Regions from separate parts of the Homo sapiens genome. Here region 1 is linked to region 2. The links are contacts of gene promoters, found by promoter capture Hi-C in human tissues and cell types (Jung and others, 2019). All regions are on one chromosome and are shown on one strand. The core of a region is centred on a gene start or on the middle of the fragment in contact, and the rest is flanking DNA. Distances in the headings are between cores, read along the strand shown. Region 1 overlaps NUMBL (NUMB like endocytic adaptor protein). Region 2 holds the start of TGFB1 (transforming growth factor beta 1).

Region 1 (2,700 bases), core at 23-2,522, 680 kb after region 2:
CTCTCAAAGTGCTGGGATTACAGGCGTGAACCACTGTGTCCAGGCATGCTTTTGTTGGATTCCAAAACATTTAACATTCACTACCTAAACTGACCCTCTCAGAGGCTTGGGAGGTAGCACTGAGATGTTTATCCCAGGTTTCTAGTTGGCAAACTGGAGCCCAGAGAGGGGAGGGGACTTCCTGAGGTCACACAGTGAGTGGAGGCAGAGGAGGTTTCCTGGTTCCAACCTGTCCTGGGCTGTTTCCACTGCCTTGGGCCAGGCCTGCATGGGTGCCCCATTGTGTCACGATGGGAGAAGCAGCACTGGGCGACATCCTTATGGGAGGGTCTCTCTGGGCCTGAGTTTAATCTCCATGGCATTCAGGCTGCAGCTCGGGGAGGCCCTGGTAGGAGGGTAGATGTGTGTTTGTGGTTTGGCAGGGGTGAGGGCAGCCCTGCCCTTGAAGAGCCTGCCTCTCCTGCTGAGTGGGGAGGTCAGGTTTCCTCCCAGAGTACAGAGAACAGTCTCAGAGTGGAGGGAGCCAGGCTGAGAGCCTGGAACAATCTGGAAAGCTTCTCAGAGGATGAAGCATCCAAGCCATGTCTAGAATGACTGGAGGAAGGGAGGAGCTACTTGAGGTGGGAAGAAGGCTGGGAGGTGGGAGACAGAGGGGAACAGACAGTGACAGAGAAAGACAACATGATATGGAGAGACAGGTCAGAGGGAGACAGGGCGGGCAGTCATTTGGAGCATGGGGTCCAGAGTCAGCCTGCCCCTTCCTAGCAGTAGGACTTGGGCACATCACACTGGGCCTTTGCTGGGTCTCAGTTTCCACATCTGTAAAATGAGAATCATATCAACCCCATGGGTAGTCGTGTGGATTGAATGAGTGAATACTTGAAAAGCATCTGGAACAATGCCTGATACGTTGTTCCAGCACCAAATCAGTGTTTGTTAAGTGATCAAAAAGGGAGATAGAGGGTCTTAGAGGGAAGAATGGTGAGAGCAGCAGGGCAAGACAGAAAGGGGCAGGAAGCTGGAGAGACACAGAGGGTGAGCCTGGGGGACGGTTTTCCAAGAGCCTCCTGGGGAAGGGGATCATGACTTGGGTGGGGGTGAGGGATATCTCAGGGCTTTGACTAGCTTGTCTTAAGGGCAGGACTCACTGGGCAAGGAAGGCAGCCTTGGAGAATGATCAAGAGAACCAGGTGGGAGAGGCCTTGCATGCCATGGTGAGATATCTAACCATCCATCTCCCCCATGTCTCCAGCAGAGGCAGCAGCTGCCCCCACTGTGGCTCCTGGCCCTGCCCAGCCTGGGCACGTGTCCCCGACACCAGCCACCACATCCCCTGGTGAGAAGGGTGAGGCAGGCACCCCTGTGGCTGCAGGCACCACTGCGGCCGCCATCCCCCGGCGCCATGCACCCCTGGAGCAGCTGGTTCGCCAGGGCTCCTTCCGTGGGTTCCCAGCACTCAGCCAGAAGAACTCGCCTTTCAAACGGCAGCTGAGCCTACGGCTGAATGAGCTGCCATCCACGCTGCAGCGCCGCACTGACTTCCAGGTGAAGGGCACAGGTGAGCCCTGGGCCCAGTGGGAAACGGCGTTGGAATCAATTGGCACTATCTGATGTGGGCAAGGGATGGAGGCGAGATGGTTCACACTGTGATTGATTTGCACTGTCTGCCATGGGCAAAGGAGAGAGAGTGGGAACATGTCATGATCGATTAGCAGTGGGCAAGGGAGAGGAAAGAGATAGCACAAATCAGGATTGATAAGCCGTGTCTGCTCTGAGTAAGGGATAGTAGAAAGGCATCACAAGTTATGATCAGTTAGCAATGTCTGGTGTGGTTAAGGAAAAGGAGAAAGATGACACACATCATGATTAGTTAGCAAAGTCGGCTATGGACAAAGAAGTCGGGCATGGATAAGGAAGTTTGCCATGGGCCAGGGAAAGAAGAGAAGCAACACCATTGGCCTGTTTTTGCTCAGGAGTAGACTGAAGCACTACAGGTTAATGCTCCCTCCCTCCAAGCATTCACCTATGAGATCTGGCTAGGTGAAGGATACAGGTATTCCTCAGGCTCTGAGGAAAGGAGGATTGTGATGGATTAGAAATGTCTGCCTAGGGCAGGGAGCATCAAGGGATGGCAAAAAAGGCATCACAAGTCATGATCAATTAGCAATGTCTGCTGTGGTTAAGGGAAACGAGAAAGATGGCACACATCATGATCGGTTAGCAGTCATGATCTCCATGCAGTGTGTGTCATGGGCAAGGGAGAAGAAAGAGTAGCAAGAGTGTTATGTTTTTACCCAAAGGGGAGACTCCCAGAATTTGGTCAGTAGAAACATGACATGCAGGGCACCAGTGAGCTCAGAGATCCCAGGGGTCAGGGGCATAGTGATGGATCAGGAACATTTGTTGTAGGCACAGAGTTGAGCAGAGGCAGTACCCATCACGAAAAGGAGCAGCACATCATAATTGATTGGCATTGTCTGCCATGGCTGGTGGTAAGAGAGAGGAGATATAAAGGTCCTGTTTTACTTGGAGGGAAGATGGAGTTACAAGGATCTGTTTCTTCTAGCACTTGGCCAGGGGAGCCATGAGGTCTGGACAGGTGACGGGTAAGGTGAGCAAAGAGCTCCGTGGGGGAAAAAAGCATTGTGTTTGATTACTAATGTCTGCCATGGGCCAGGGAAAGGAGACAGGTGGTGTACA
Region 2 (2,806 bases), core at 307-2,806:
GAAAGAAGGCCCTGGGCCCAAAGAGAGCAGGGCAGGGACATGAGGGAAGGCAGGAGGTGTCCCTGACAAGGCCCATGATGGTTACCTGGGGACTGGAGGAGCAATGGGCTGCCCTGACATGGGGTCATGGAGGAGGATAACACAGAGAGGAAATTCAGCAGAGGTCTGATTAGAAGGGCCTTGAATGTTGAAGAGGTTGGACTTTATACTGAGGGCACTGGGGAGCTATGGAAGGATCCTTAGCAGGGGAGTAACATGGATTTGGAAAGATCACTTTGGCTGCTGTGTGGGGATAGATAAGACGGTGGGAGCCTAGAAAGGAGGCTGGGTTGGAAACTCTGGGACAGAAACCCAGAGAGGAAAAGACTGGGCCTGGGGTCTCCAGTGAGTATCAGGGAGTGGGGAATCAGCAGGAGTCTGGTCCCCACCCATCCCTCCTTTCCCCTCTCTCTCCTTTCCTGCAGGCTGGCCCCGGCTCCATTTCCAGGTGTGGTCCCAGGACAGCTTTGGCCGCTGCCAGCTTGCAGGCTATGGATTTTGCCATGTGCCCAGTAGCCCGGGCACCCACCAGCTGGCCTGCCCCACGTGGCGGCCCCTGGGCAGTTGGCGAGAACAGTTGGCACGGGCTTTCGTGGGTGGTGGGCCGCAGCTGCTGCATGGGGACACCATCTACAGTGGGGCCGACCGCTATCGCCTGCACACAGCTGCTGGTGGCACCGTGCACCTGGAGATCGGCCTGCTGCTCCGCAACTTCGACCGCTACGGCGTGGAGTGCTGAGGGACTCTGCCTCCAACGTCACCACCATCCACACCCCGGACACCCAGTGATGGGGGAGGATGGCACAGTGGTCAAGAGCACAGACTCTAGAGACTGTCAGAGCTGACCCCAGCTAAGGCATGGCACCGCTTCTGTCCTTTCTAGGACCTCGGGGTCCCTCTGGGCCCAGTTTCCCTATCTGTAAATTGGGGACAGTAAATGTATGGGGTCGCAGGGTGTTGAGTGACAGGAGGCTGCTTAGCCACATGGGAGGTGCTCAGTAAAGGAGAGCAATTCTTACAGGTGTCTGCCTCCTGACCCTTCCATCCTTCAGGTGTCCTGTTGCCCCCTCCTCCCACTGACACCCTCCGGAGGCCCCCATGTTGACAGACCCTCTTCTCCTACCTTGTTTCCCAGCCTGACTCTCCTTCCGTTCTGGGTCCCCCTCCTCTGGTCGGCTCCCCTGTGTCTCATCCCCCGGATTAAGCCTTCTCCGCCTGGTCCTCTTTCTCTGGTGACCCACACCGCCCGCAAAGCCACAGCGCATCTGGATCACCCGCTTTGGTGGCGCTTGGCCGCCAGGAGGCAGCACCCTGTTTGCGGGGCGGAGCCGGGGTGCCCGCCCCCTTTCCCCCAGGGCTGAAGGGACCCCCCTCGGAGCCCGCCCACGCGAGATGAGGACGGTGGCCCAGCCCCCCCATGCCCTCCCCCTGGGGGCCGCCCCCGCTCCCGCCCCGTGCGCTTCCTGGGTGGGGCCGGGGGCGGCTTCAAAACCCCCTGCCGACCCAGCCGGTCCCCGCCGCCGCCGCCCTTCGCGCCCTGGGCCATCTCCCTCCCACCTCCCTCCGCGGAGCAGCCAGACAGCGAGGGCCCCGGCCGGGGGCAGGGGGGACGCCCCGTCCGGGGCACCCCCCCGGCTCTGAGCCGCCCGCGGGGCCGGCCTCGGCCCGGAGCGGAGGAAGGAGTCGCCGAGGAGCAGCCTGAGGCCCCAGAGTCTGAGACGAGCCGCCGCCGCCCCCGCCACTGCGGGGAGGAGGGGGAGGAGGAGCGGGAGGAGGGACGAGCTGGTCGGGAGAAGAGGAAAAAAACTTTTGAGACTTTTCCGTTGCCGCTGGGAGCCGGAGGCGCGGGGACCTCTTGGCGCGACGCTGCCCCGCGAGGAGGCAGGACTTGGGGACCCCAGACCGCCTCCCTTTGCCGCCGGGGACGCTTGCTCCCTCCCTGCCCCCTACACGGCGTCCCTCAGGCGCCCCCATTCCGGACCAGCCCTCGGGAGTCGCCGACCCGGCCTCCCGCAAAGACTTTTCCCCAGACCTCGGGCGCACCCCCTGCACGCCGCCTTCATCCCCGGCCTGTCTCCTGAGCCCCCGCGCATCCTAGACCCTTTCTCCTCCAGGAGACGGATCTCTCTCCGACCTGCCACAGATCCCCTATTCAAGACCACCCACCTTCTGGTACCAGATCGCGCCCATCTAGGTTATTTCCGTGGGATACTGAGACACCCCCGGTCCAAGCCTCCCCTCCACCACTGCGCCCTTCTCCCTGAGGACCTCAGCTTTCCCTCGAGGCCCTCCTACCTTTTGCCGGGAGACCCCCAGCCCCTGCAGGGGCGGGGCCTCCCCACCACACCAGCCCTGTTCGCGCTCTCGGCAGTGCCGGGGGGCGCCGCCTCCCCCATGCCGCCCTCCGGGCTGCGGCTGCTGCCGCTGCTGCTACCGCTGCTGTGGCTACTGGTGCTGACGCCTGGCCGGCCGGCCGCGGGACTATCCACCTGCAAGACTATCGACATGGAGCTGGTGAAGCGGAAGCGCATCGAGGCCATCCGCGGCCAGATCCTGTCCAAGCTGCGGCTCGCCAGCCCCCCGAGCCAGGGGGAGGTGCCGCCCGGCCCGCTGCCCGAGGCCGTGCTCGCCCTGTACAACAGCACCCGCGACCGGGTGGCCGGGGAGAGTGCAGAACCGGAGCCCGAGCCTGAGGCCGACTACTACGCCAAGGAGGTCACCCGCGTGCTAATGGTGGAAACCCACAACGGTGAGCTCGGAGGGGCAG

Evidence for each region. The method cuts DNA at HindIII sites, captures the fragments that hold promoters and counts their contacts. A contact is called where the count stands out against the background at its distance.
Region 1: a contact is called between a fragment that was not itself captured here and the fragment with the promoter of TGFB1 in region 2, in 1 of the 25 tissues and cell types used here (lymphoblastoid cells).

The regions. Positions count from the first base shown.
Region 1 is chr19:40,672,202-40,674,901 of GRCh38, reverse strand. NUMBL (NUMB like endocytic adaptor protein) reads left to right here. Exons shown (of 10, transcript NM_004756.5): 8 at 1,253-1,558. Among named protein-coding and RNA genes, the nearest start is that of NUMBL, 17 kb to the left of the region's middle. The HindIII fragment of the contact is 7,936 bases long and covers 1-2,700 here.
Region 2 is chr19:41,352,672-41,355,477 of GRCh38, reverse strand. TGFB1 (transforming growth factor beta 1) reads left to right here and starts at 1,556. Exons shown (of 7, transcript NM_000660.7): 1 at 1,556-2,788. The coding sequence starts at 2,434. B9D2 (B9 domain containing 2) reads left to right here. Exons shown (of 4, transcript NM_030578.4): 4 at 465-1,061. The coding sequence ends at 778. RefSeq lists enhancers at 679-1,180, 1,104-1,253 and silencers at 1,254-1,783, 1,934-2,003, 2,304-2,383, 2,544-2,806. The HindIII fragment of the contact is 14,181 bases long and covers 1-2,806 here.